2 separate regions of the Homo sapiens genome follow, and region 2 is linked to region 1. The links are contacts of gene promoters, found by promoter capture Hi-C in human tissues and cell types (Jung and others, 2019). All regions are on one chromosome and are shown on one strand. The core of a region is centred on a gene start or on the middle of the fragment in contact, and the rest is flanking DNA. Distances in the headings are between cores, read along the strand shown.

Evidence for each region. The method cuts DNA at HindIII sites, captures the fragments that hold promoters and counts their contacts. A contact is called where the count stands out against the background at its distance.
Region 2: a fragment that was not itself captured here is called in contact with the fragment with the promoter of OR1Q1 in region 1 in 2 of the 25 tissues and cell types used here (H1 embryonic stem cells and stomach).

What each region holds. Positions count from the first base shown.
Region 1 is chr9:122,610,926-122,617,169 of GRCh38, forward strand. It overlaps OR1Q1 (olfactory receptor family 1 subfamily Q member 1), which reads left to right and starts at 3,813. Exons shown (of 1, transcript NM_012364.1): 1 at 3,813-4,757. The coding sequence starts at 3,813. The coding sequence ends at 4,757. All of the region lies in intron 1 of LOC124902265 (a long non-coding RNA gene), which reads left to right. The HindIII fragment of the contact is 8,234 bases long and covers 1-6,244 here.
Region 2 is chr9:122,485,634-122,491,695 of GRCh38, forward strand. It overlaps a transcript of OR1J2 not described here. Among named protein-coding and RNA genes, the nearest start is that of OR1J1, 11 kb to the left of the region's middle. The HindIII fragment of the contact is 4,254 bases long and covers 2,686-6,062 here.

The sequences.
Region 1 (6,244 bases), core at 2,563-5,062:
ATGTTTCAGAACATTTTCATGGCAGACCCGGGACCAAAGCCCAGATAGAAAATGGAAATTTCCTGGGTCAAGCTCCATTCCTGCACACCACATTACTGTTTTATTTTAAAATCCACATCCTTTTATAAAGTAATGTTCTCCTCTAGGAGTTCCCTATTCTTAGTCTCCTGCCTCCTTGTCCACACCACGCTCCTCCCCTCTGCCATAAGGGGCTCATACGCTGCACTATAGGTCAGGCAAGATGATTTCTGCCAGCCATGAGGAAGACAAGGAGGACTCTTAAGTTTCTAGGCAGCTCCCCACCATCCACTTCTGGGACTCTCTCTAGCCTCTTGGGTAGCTGTGTCACAAGAGCTACATAGATATTGCCCAGGTAGCATCTGGGCACAGGCTACCGACTGTCAAGTAGAGCTCAGTCCACTCATAGGCCTTTCCCAAGATCTGGAAAGAAGGATTAATCTTACGTTTCCCAAACCATAAACTCAGGGCCACCTGATGCCCAGCCCTGCAGGCTAGAGATATGAATCTTCATTTGAAGAATCCAATTACAATGCCACATTGATAAGAGAAGACCAGCACAGGGAAGGAATGGAACGTGGGTGTTAAATCGGTGAGGTCAGAGAGGAAGAGCATTGCTTCCGAGTTAGACAGATTGAAGATCAAGCTGGATCCAACTCTACTCTATTTGACCTTGAGAAAGTTAATTAGTCTCCCTGGTCCTCGGTTTTCATGATCTCAGTATGGGAATAATAATATCTATGCTTAGTTTTATAATGAGAATTAAACAAAAAAATGATAGGTACTTATCATTGTCCAATGCACAGGATAGCACAGTAGAAAAGAAGGAAACAAAGAGGAAAATAGAAACTAGAATAGCGAGAGAAAACTTAAGAAGTAGCATAGCCCCATGGTTGAGAGCATAGGCTTTTGAGGTCAGGCAGAGCTGAATCCAAATTTCATTACTACCACTTATTAAATCTGTGACCTTATGCATGTCACAGGACCCTTTCAAGCCCCAATTTCCTCATTTATAAAGTGGAGCTGATACCTATGTCATGGAATTGCTGTGATCACATGAAAAACATATATACAGCTCTTAGAATAATTCCTGGTATATAGTAAGTGCTCAGTAAATGTGCACTTTTATTTCACATTCATCATCATGCCACATTGAAATCAATTCAGGATATTCAATATCATATTAGGAATTGCCACACTTTTATAGTTGAAAAACCTACTGTTTGTTCTCTTGAGCTGTACCATGGTGGCATCCTTTAATTTGAGGCATGAAAGCAGACAGACCAGGAATGATAAATTCTATTCTGTGAAGAAGAAGCTAAATAAGTGAAATGGGCCATCAGGCACGTATGAGCACTAGAGGTATCCAGACGTAAGTGTGAAGTCGTTACCACTTACTACTAAGTTATACTGAGTGAATCACTTCACTTCCCTAAGCCTTGGTATTCTCATATATAAAATAAGGATAATAAGTGATTGTGACTAGGACACACAGCTAGACACATACTGAGATTGCTACAAGGACTATCTGAGATATGTGTAAAGTGCCTTACATAGGAACAGTTCTTAACTGCTGGCACTTTTTCCTCCCAACAACCAAATTGCACAGTCTGAGAATTCTTATAGCCATAAACACATTTTATTTGTGGACTGCCAACTCTGATCTCCACCTCAAAAAGATTATTTGGTTATTATTTACGACCAGATGAAATCATTGTGACTAGCCTGTGATGAAAAACCAGACTCATAGAATATTGCTTAGTTTCTGGAAATGACATTTTAAGGACAGAGGAAAAGTGAACAGTGTCACAGTAGAGACCTGGATGGCAGAAAAACCTGGAGACGCTATGTTTAACAAGACTGAAAAAAAATGAAAGAAAAAATCACCAACATTTACTGAATACTTTACAGAAACCAGGTACTTTCATCTAATCCTTGTAACAACTTTAAGTGTAATAAACTATAAAAATCCCCATTTGACAGATGAGAAAATGAAGGCTGGGCTTTTAACCACTGCACAGTGCTGCACGTTTAGATTTCTCAAGGGCTGTCATGGTGAAGAATAACAGGCTTGTTGTGTGAGATCCCAGAGGACCAACCTCATTCTGCGAGACAGAAATGAGAGGCAATTATACTTTAGCTTCTCCTGTAAAAAAAAAAAAAAAAAAAAAAATCTGACAACTAGAGCTTCCTGCCACTAAAAGCGTTCAAAAGGAGAAAGGATGATTATTTCCCCAGGATCCTATAAAAAGAGACTGAACATTGATTGAGAAGTTGGGTCAAGTTCTCAATCAATGAGTTTATAGTTTTCAATGATTTATAGTTTTTGCTTATATATGCTTTTTTATTAAGACCCATGCGCTTTTAAAAAGAGGCATATAAAATTATCCATTTGATGTTTAAATAGCTATAAGTATATAATACATGGAGTATTGTACTTTTAAAACAAAACTTTACATTATTTCTTAAAATGTACCCAATGACATCTAAACACAGAGTGATTTGATAATCACATCATTCATTTTTAAAATGCAAGAACAAAGTCATCCTGAAAATGTGTATGTTTTACATTATTCCTTCTCCATTTAAACATGTATTTCCATTCTTCTCCTATACAAATTTTATCCTGTTGTAATAAATGTTTATGCTGGAAAGTCTCTTATAATCACCTATATTACTTTTCACAATAAAAAATAAAAGTTTTTTTATTTCTTATGACCACAAAATTTTGTGTTAAAATAATTATGAAAAATCATCTACATTGAGTTATTATCACAATTATTACTAATTGGCACCAATTTGGTCAGTTTAAACAACTGACCAAAACTATGTAATTGTTAGCTTCAATTATATTAAGTTGCCAACATTCACCTATTTTGATCTACAAAAATAGTAATTTCATATGGTAATATATCACAAATTTTGAAAATAATTGTTATTCCTAAAAAGATTTTAATTAAAGGCATCTAGTAGGACTTTTTTAGTTCATATATCTAGAAATGAGTATTACTTATTACTAAAGTAAGTCAAAATCAACATCAATTATATTACCATTTAGTTTTCATTTGTTACATGGGAAACAAGATTATGCACTAGGTGACATCTTAAAGATAAGAAGAGTTTAGAAAAGAGAACTGTGGAAATTGAGGATCTAGACAATTATTTTCCTAAAACCATTATTCTATGTACTGAGAAGTCTCTGGAGATCAGCAAGAGTATGTGTCCCCCAAAGTGAAAATTACTGAACCAAATGACCTCTGACCTCCCTTTCAGCAGGCAGATTCCTTGGTTATATAGCTCATCAATAGGTCTTATTACCATGAATAAGATGGCTTGGTTTTAATCTGGGGAGTCATGTCATATAGTGGCTAATAGTATAATCTTTGGCACCAGATAAATGTGACTTAAATTGATATTTTGCTCTTTATGAACTTAAACTTTCCGTGCCTGTTTTCAAATTTGTAAAAGTGAAATAATAATAATAATAATAGTAGTAGTAGTAATAATAGCCTCATAGAGTTATTGATTTAAATGTGATAACACAGAAAAGTCCCTGGTTTAAGGTAAATGTTCTGTAAATGTTAGCTATGGGGCTATTAGGTTGGTGCAAAAGTAATTGTGGTTTTTAGCAGTACTTTTAATAATGATGATGTTAATGAAAAATCCATATTATCTTGGAAAAGTCATAAGCACTTAATCCCTTTATCAGCACAGTGTGTAGTTTACACTGGGGCACAACAGTGACTATATGTCCAAGTCTATAGAACTAATTCTTTTTGTTCTTATGGCAACAGATGGACAACAGCAACTGGACCAGTGTGTCCCATTTTGTTCTCTTGGGCATTTCCACCCACCCAGAAGAGCAAATCCCACTCTTCCTTGTTTTCTCACTCATGTACGCAATCAATATTTCTGGCAACTTGGCCATCATCACACTGATTCTCTCTGCTCCACGCCTCCACATCCCCATGTACATCTTCCTCAGTAACTTGGCCTTGACAGACATCTGCTTCACCTCCACCACGGTCCCCAAGATGCTGCAGATTATTTTCTCCCCTACAAAGGTAATTTCCTACACAGGCTGTTTAGCCCAAACTTATTTCTTCATTTGCTTCGCCGTCATGGAAAACTTCATCCTGGCTGTGATGGCCTATGACAGGTACATTGCCATCTGCCACCCTTTCCACTACACTATGATCCTGACTAGAATGCTGTGTGTGAAGATGGTGGTCATGTGCCATGCTCTCTCCCACCTTCATGCCATGCTGCATACCTTTCTCATAGGCCAACTAATCTTCTGTGCAGATAACAGAATCCCCCACTTCTTCTGTGACCTCTACGCTCTGATGAAGATCTCCTGCACCAGCACCTACCTCAACACCCTTATGATTCACACAGAAGGTGCTGTTGTAATCAGTGGAGCTCTGGCCTTCATTACTGCCTCCTATGCCTGCATCATCCTGGTGGTCCTCCGGATCCCCTCAGCCAAGGGCAGGTGGAAAACCTTTTCTACCTGCGGCTCCCACCTCACTGTGGTGGCCATATTCTATGGCACCCTCAGTTGGGTCTACTTCCGGCCCCTTTCCAGCTATTCAGTGACCAAGGGTCGCATTATAACAGTCGTGTACACAGTGGTGACTCCCATGCTGAACCCCTTCATCTACAGCCTGAGGAATGGGGATGTCAAGGGAGGCTTCATGAAATGGATGAGCAGAATGCAGACTTTTTTCTTTAGATAAAACCCCAAACACAGTTCAGAGGTTTACCTATGGTTCTGGAGAAATAATGTTGTGCCTCACAGATCTGCTTTCTTTAGAACTTTCCAGAAATATCTAAATTAGCTATATATCATGTGTTTTCTCACTGGATATTGCCCAGAGAAATCTATTAAATCCAAAGTACATAAAACAAAAAGGAACCACCATGTACTTAGTGTAAAACACTAGCGTTTCTTTAACTATAATTAACAGGGTTCTCTGCAATTAAACACTAGGGTTGTAACTCTCAGAGTTCTTAGATGTAGGCAATAGAAACTGATTCTGGCTTATGCATGGAGGAAATGAGTTTCTTGAAAAGATATGTGGAGCTCATGCATTTCCAAGGCTAGGGAACTAGACTCAAGAAAAATGGACAAGAATAATAAAGGTCATATCATCAGAACTGCAGTGAAAATCATATCCCAGAACTAGTCTAATGAGGACACTACTGTAGCCACCAAACTCTATTCACTGCAGCTTGTACCTCCTCCTATACTACCAGCAGTAGTCACTGGGCATAGTTCTTGGAGGTCTATAAACTGGTTATTACCACTTCCAGAAAGAACTGTCCCCTTCTTATTCTTTTCACTACTATGTCTAGATTCAAAATAAGGTGGTGCATCTGACTGGTCAAGAATTTGGTCACCAACACATCCCCTAGCTGCCAGGAAAACTAGGAGAGCAATATTGGTGCTTTTATTTTCTATAAGTTTATAGAAGTCAGGTGAAATGGGGTAACTACTCCAATATAAGAAGAGGAACATAATGATAATGTCTACTATTTGGAGTCAGAAGTTATATATGCTCCAGAATGAAGCACTGTCATGCTTACCAATTTGCATTTTTCTTAACCTGCTTTACCTGCACTACTCAGGGATAAGTCAAACTCATTTTGCCTCAGCATGTTCCTGATCTCTTCTGTAGTTGATATGTGGAACTGGTCTAATAGTGGGTGAAAATTGATTTGTCTTCTGACCAATCAATACTGGGCATGAAGAACAGGTTCAAGCATCAAGAGTCTGTTAAAATGTTGATTCTTCAATATTATTAAAAGACCATACTGCCCAAAGAAATTTATAGATTCAATGCTATTCCTATGAAACTACCAATGACATTTGTCACATAATTAGAAAAAACTATTCTAAAATCCACATGGAACCAAAAAAGAGCCCAAATAGCCAAAGCAATCCTAAGCAACAGGGACAAAGCCAGAAGCATCACACTATCCAAATTCAAACTATACTACAAGGCTACAGCAACCAAAACAGCATGGTACTGGTACCAAAACAGACACATAGAGCAATGGAACAGAATAGAGAACCCAGAAGTAAACAACTACATGTTAGCTGGTTATGTTGAACATTAATTGATGCAGTTTCTTCATGCATCGATGGTCTTTACAATTTGGCATGTTTTTTCAGTGGCTGGTACCGGTTGTTACCTTCCATGTTTAGTGCTTCCTTGAGGAG
Region 2 (6,062 bases), core at 3,563-6,062, 120 kb before region 1:
TAAGTTTTCCTGGGAGAGAGAGCCCTATGGCCAACACTCTAACTCAGATAGAATGGCTGAGAGCAATTTATTTGGGGATCCAGGTTTGGATGGCAGAACAAATGCACTGGCTTTCTCAGACAAAGTGAGGAGACAAGGTTGGAGATTACAGGCAGAATGAAAGCAGAGGCTGCAGACACTGAGAACAAATTTACTATCTTTCCAGTTTGGCTGCAATGACTGCTGTAAGGCTGGGCTGTAGAAATAGTTGAATTGTTAAGAAATCTGATGTAGTGCTTAATTTGTACCAGGTGATTTTCAAATAATATTCACCTGTTCCCACATAAGTTTTTTTTTTTTTTTTTGAGGTGGAGTCTCTGTCACTCAGGCTGGAGTGCAGTGCAGTGGAACCATCTCGACTCACTGCAACCTCTGCCTCCCGGGTTCAAGCAATTCTCCTGTCTCAGCCTCCCGAGTAGCTGGGATTACAGGTGCCCACTAGCATGCCAGGCCAATTTTTGTATTTTTAGTTGAGAGGGGGTTTCACCATATTGCCAGGCTGGCCTTGAACTCCTGACATCAAGTGATCCACCCACCTTGGCCTCCCAAAGTGCTGGGATTACAGGCATGAACCGCTGTGCCCAGCCAATGTAGGCATTCTGATCCTCACTTTGGAGAGGAGAACACTGGGATTCAGTGATGAAACTTGCCCAGTATTATAGCACTAGTATATTGTGAGCCTGGGAATTGATAGCAGGTCCATCTGGCTTCAAAGACTATATTCTTCCCACTCTATTAAAAGCCCTTATTAAATATATCTTCAAATAGGACAATATTTGCTGCCTGAGAGCACTCAAGAATTTCATGAAGTAAATTGGAGAGTTTAAGGATGAATAAAAATCTATAGTTTCAAGATTTGTGCCATGATGGTGATGTCAGTAATACTGATAATAAAAATTAGAATAGCAATCATTCATTAATCACATATTTATTGTGTGAATAATAATATAGGCCAGCTGCTGTGATGCAATTTATATCATATCAGCCTAACAGGATCACAAAATGGCATTATTCTCATCTAACCAATTGGAAAGTAGGGTTTACAGAGTATAAATAATTTGCCTAAAATTCTACATCATGAAAATGATGGGGAGGTCATTCAATCCTGTGTTTGTCTGATTTCAAACTCATGCTGCTAATCATCATGTCGTATTGCCTCCAGCAGAGCATTGATGGAAAAGACATCTGGATATGCACCTGTCATTAAAGAGGTGGAATCTGTAATTTCTTAAAAGCCTTTGCATAGATGTATTGCTTCAGTCTTTAATCAGATGATCAGAAGAGAATAGAGAAACCAGGAAATCAGTTACTGGATTTACGAAGGCAGCTTCCCAGAAAGTAAATTTCTCGGGGTCCCAGGAAAAAAACAAATAAGACCCTGGCCAGTGTTGTTGTTGATACCTATATTCCATCAGTAAGGGAAAGGTTAAGGCAACTATGGTACACATTATTGAAAAGAATATGTAGTCAATAAAATAAATTCATTAAAAGCTTATGATATAATTTTTAAAGGACATAATAGGAAATTGCATGTAGGTATGTTTATAACTATTTATAAAAATGCAGATTATTATTATTTTTTAAACCTTGAAGAATGTGCTCATAGCTGGGATGCAGGCCAGATATTCAGCAAAACTGTGAGAGAACATTTTCCTAAAGAGGAAAGTACAAACACCAGAGAATAATAATAATGATGTCCACCCTAAATTATTTGATGTAATACAAAAATTATATAAACCACCTGGCACATGTGTACTCATCTGCAAGATTTTGGAGGAGATGATTAACACACACACACACACACACACACACACACACAAACTGCTTAATGGAGTCTGTAAGCATTGGTCTTACCTAGTTCAGTGATAAATTCAAATATTGTCAGCTCCTTGGTATGAACCAATCATTCATTTTCTCTCCAAAAGTCTTAGAGCTGGAACAGTGAGAAAAGTCATGAGCTCAACCCTGAAGTGGAGAAGAGGCACATTCTTTGTTTTTCACCAGCCACAAGGCTACAGCAAGAGTATCTCCCTTTACCTGCCTGGATGGGAACCCAGGGGACTGGTGCCAGAAGTCTGTGGTGAGACACAGTTAGGGGCTAATTACTGTATTTCCCTTAATATTCCCAGTTGAAATGTGCCTTTGCCGGACACCAAGGACAGTCAACTCCTATGGGAATATAAATAAGAACTTTTATTATGTACAGATTTTTTTTATTTATAAAGAACTTTCACATCTATAAGATTTTTTAAGCATCACAATAATATTTGATGTAGATAGTATTTTTCCCATTTATTGAGTTTGACAATGTCTCAAAAGTAAATGGTTAAATGAGTATTCAAACATAAACACATTAACTTCAAACCTAAAGCCTGGTTTCATTCTAGGCTTTCTTCCATGTTGCCTCCCTTATATTAGTGAGCTCTATATTTTAAATAATTCTTTTGGGTTTTTTGTTTGTTTGTTTTGTTTTTGTTTTATTTTTGTTTTGAGACAGTTCTGTTGCCCAGGCTGGAGTGCAGTGGCATGATCTCAGCTCACTGCAACCTCTGCCTCCTGGGTTCAAGTGATTCTCATGCCTCAGCCTCCCAAGTAACTGGAATTACAGGTGTGTGCCACCACGTCCAGCTAATTTTTTGTATTTTTAGTAGAAATGGGGTTTTGCCATGTTGCCCAGGGTGGTCTCAAACTCCTGAGCTCAGGTGATCTGCCCGCCTCAGCCTCCCAGAGTGCCTGGATTATAGGCGTGAGCCACCGCTCCTGGCCTATACAGACTTCCTCCTTCCCACATTCAATTTGGAACTGGAAGGAGAGGTGTTACTAGTCCCTGAGGATTAAGAACACTTTTCAAGGACTAGAGATTTATTTTCCTCATGGGAAACACCTGAATACATGCAGGATTTATTTTTGGTTAGTGATGACACATAATAATAGTTGGAACAGACTCAGGGCTCAAAAAGTATTCTTTGACCATAAAAATGAGTGTGAGAATCTTCAGAAACCTGCTACATTCAGGTTGGCAAAAATATAAAAGAGACGGAGAATTAAGTGGAGGAGATTGCTTTTTTCATTATTTCTTTGAATAATTTGTGCATTCATTTACTCATTCAGAAGAATATTGTATAAATATGATGTGGCAAGAATTTTGTGAGGCACTGTAAGTAAAGAAAACACAAGTTTCTTTTTTTAAAATTTATTATACTCTAAGTTCTGGGGTACATGTGCAGAATGTGCAGGTTTGTTATATAGGTATACACATGTCATGGTGGTTTGCTGCACCCATTACCCATCGTCTACATTAGGTATTTCTCTTAATGCTATCCCTCCCCTAACCCCCCCACCCATTGACAGGCCCTGGTGTGTGATGTTCCCATCTCTGTGTCCATGGGAAAACACAATTTTCTGTCCCCAAAGAGTTCCCAATCCATTGAATGAGATCGACAAAACCGTCCACATCAGACACTGTAATGAAGGTAAGAGCCGAGTGCTGTGGGAACACAAAGGGGGGCATCAAACCCAAATTAAAGGCATCAAGCAAGTGTTCTGTGTGGGAAACTTATGAGGGGAGAAGAAAAGACACACACACCATTCCTTTATTCCATATATAAATATATATATATATATTTACACTCGCCAGACTACGGAGGATTCACCACCAGACTGGAAAGCAACAGCCTGGGTTCCAGAGTCAGATACAAAACTCACCAGACTGTGGAGGATTCACCACCAGACTGGGAAGAAACAGCCTGGGCTCCAGAGTCGGCCACTTGTCCGTGCACAGACAAGGAGAGGTTTCATGAAGCTTCGGTGCTAGGGTCTGGGACCCTAGCTCTTTTTGTAAGAAGTTGTTTTGCATGAGGCCCAGTGACGAGGGCCCTTTGCGACTGGGCTCAAGGAACACAAAAAGATCAACTTGTTTTTGCAATTATCTATTGTTTTTCAATAACCAATGTATAGGAATAGATTGAAATAGAGATTTCTCCGAAACAGTGCTGGATGAATGCCTCAAGGGGCTCACACAACCTGTTCCCGGACTTGGTGACCATTGTTTGTGTCCACGTTCAATTGAGTTCAAATTTAATATTTAACTTTTTCTCCACATTGGGCCTCAATTTGATACTCAGTTGTAGGAAAATACCCTTACAGATACATGGGGAAGGCACAGTTGATAGATTACAGATACATGGTAAGCACAGGAGAATTAAAAACGCAATTAATAAAAACCACACCTACGATAGCTTTGCAAGGAGAGTAATATTGTGAGAATTGTCAGGGATAGACACATAACATTTAGTATGCAGTAAGGCACAAACCCCTCCTTGGGCTGTGGTAAGCATATCTAATGCCTCTCGATTTTGCAACACAACAGTGCACGGCTGAGCAAATTCATCTGATAACATAAGTCCAGTGCTACTATCATTAAGAGCTTTTTCTACATGTAAGCTTAATATTTTAATTTGTTGCTGAAGCAGGATTGTACTGGTGGCAGGGGAGAATACTGTGATAGGGTACCATCATCAGGGAGTCTGGCACATTCATAACCAGTGATGTTTGTAAGCATCTAGATTACTGGGGAGGGAATATTATCCCAGATGGTGAATGGAATTAATGGCCATCCCCAAATGCATCTCCCCATCCAATGTGGGGTGGTGAGTGTAAATATATATATATCTCTTTTCCTTTATCCCCTTCCCATTGCAACTTGCTTATTATATCAATTTGCTTATTATATCATTGGCTTGTTATATCTGCATTGCCATTTACGTGGGATAAAGCTTGTTTACCCTTAAAGGTATTTTGTGTGTGTCTTTTCTTCTCCCCTCATGCGTTTCCCACACAGAACAGCAAGTAGGCTTGTAGAAAGTTACAAGTAAGCAGAAACTCAAGAAAATCAAAACAAGTAGAAGGTGATGTCAACAACATAGAGGCAGAGCAGTGAAAGGGAGAGAAACAGAGGAATAGGAAAAGACCTACAGAAGAGAAAGGATGGCAAATTTAGGAAACAATTGTCAGAAAAATTAGAGTGGCTAAAATGTACACTTGAACAGGGGAAGAGGTTCAGGATGAGTCCAGAGAAACTAGAAGGAATAAATCATGCAGGACCTTAGAAGCCATATTGAAGAATTTGCATATTACTCAAAAGGAAAGAAAGAGCCATGGAAGGACTTGATCAGCAGATTGACAATCATACTAAACACAGTTGGTATAGTTCAGGAGTGGATAATGAGCATGTGTTTGCAGTGGGCAGAGGACATGTTGGCAGAGCAGGCATGGGGTAGTGGAATGCAAGACCAGAAGCAAAGAGACTCATTAGGAGAAGATGACAGTCATTTAGGTAAGAGATTATGAAAGTGTGTATAAGAGAGTGACCATGATGTTAGAACTATATTGATTTAAGTCTCCGTAGTCAGAATCTAATGGATATAGTAATTTTGATGTGAGTTGATTTTGATAAGAATGTAGAAAATAAGGAGAACAAAGGAGTTGAAAACCTCTCTAAATTTATGGCTTGGACAGCTGAGTGTATGGTTGTGCTATTCACTGAAGGCAATATAGAAGAAAAAGATTTGAGAAGTTGTATTGCATAGAGTATGAGGTACCTATAGGTCATCCATGAGACAAATTTAGTAGGCAGGTGGATATATTTTGGATAGAGATAGAAATTCATGGACTGTCAACATAGAGGAGGATGAGATTGCCTGAAAACAAATGAGGTTAGTAAAAGCTGAGGAAAAAGAAGAAGGAGGGGAGAGAAAGGGAGGAGAGAAGAGGAAAGGAGAAGGGAGAAAAGCAAGGAAAGGGAAGGGAATAGTTGCTGAGGACAGACCACAGGGAACATTGACAATTAAGATAGTAGCAGAGAAATAAAGCCCCCAAAAGACATCAAATAACAACCAGAGATGGAGAAGGAGAATATAAAAATGTAGAGCCAAGGTTAAGTGCTGAAACCATTCATTGGATTTAGTAATAATGAGGATTTCGGTGACATGACTAGGAGCAATGCAAATAAAAGGTGGGAATGG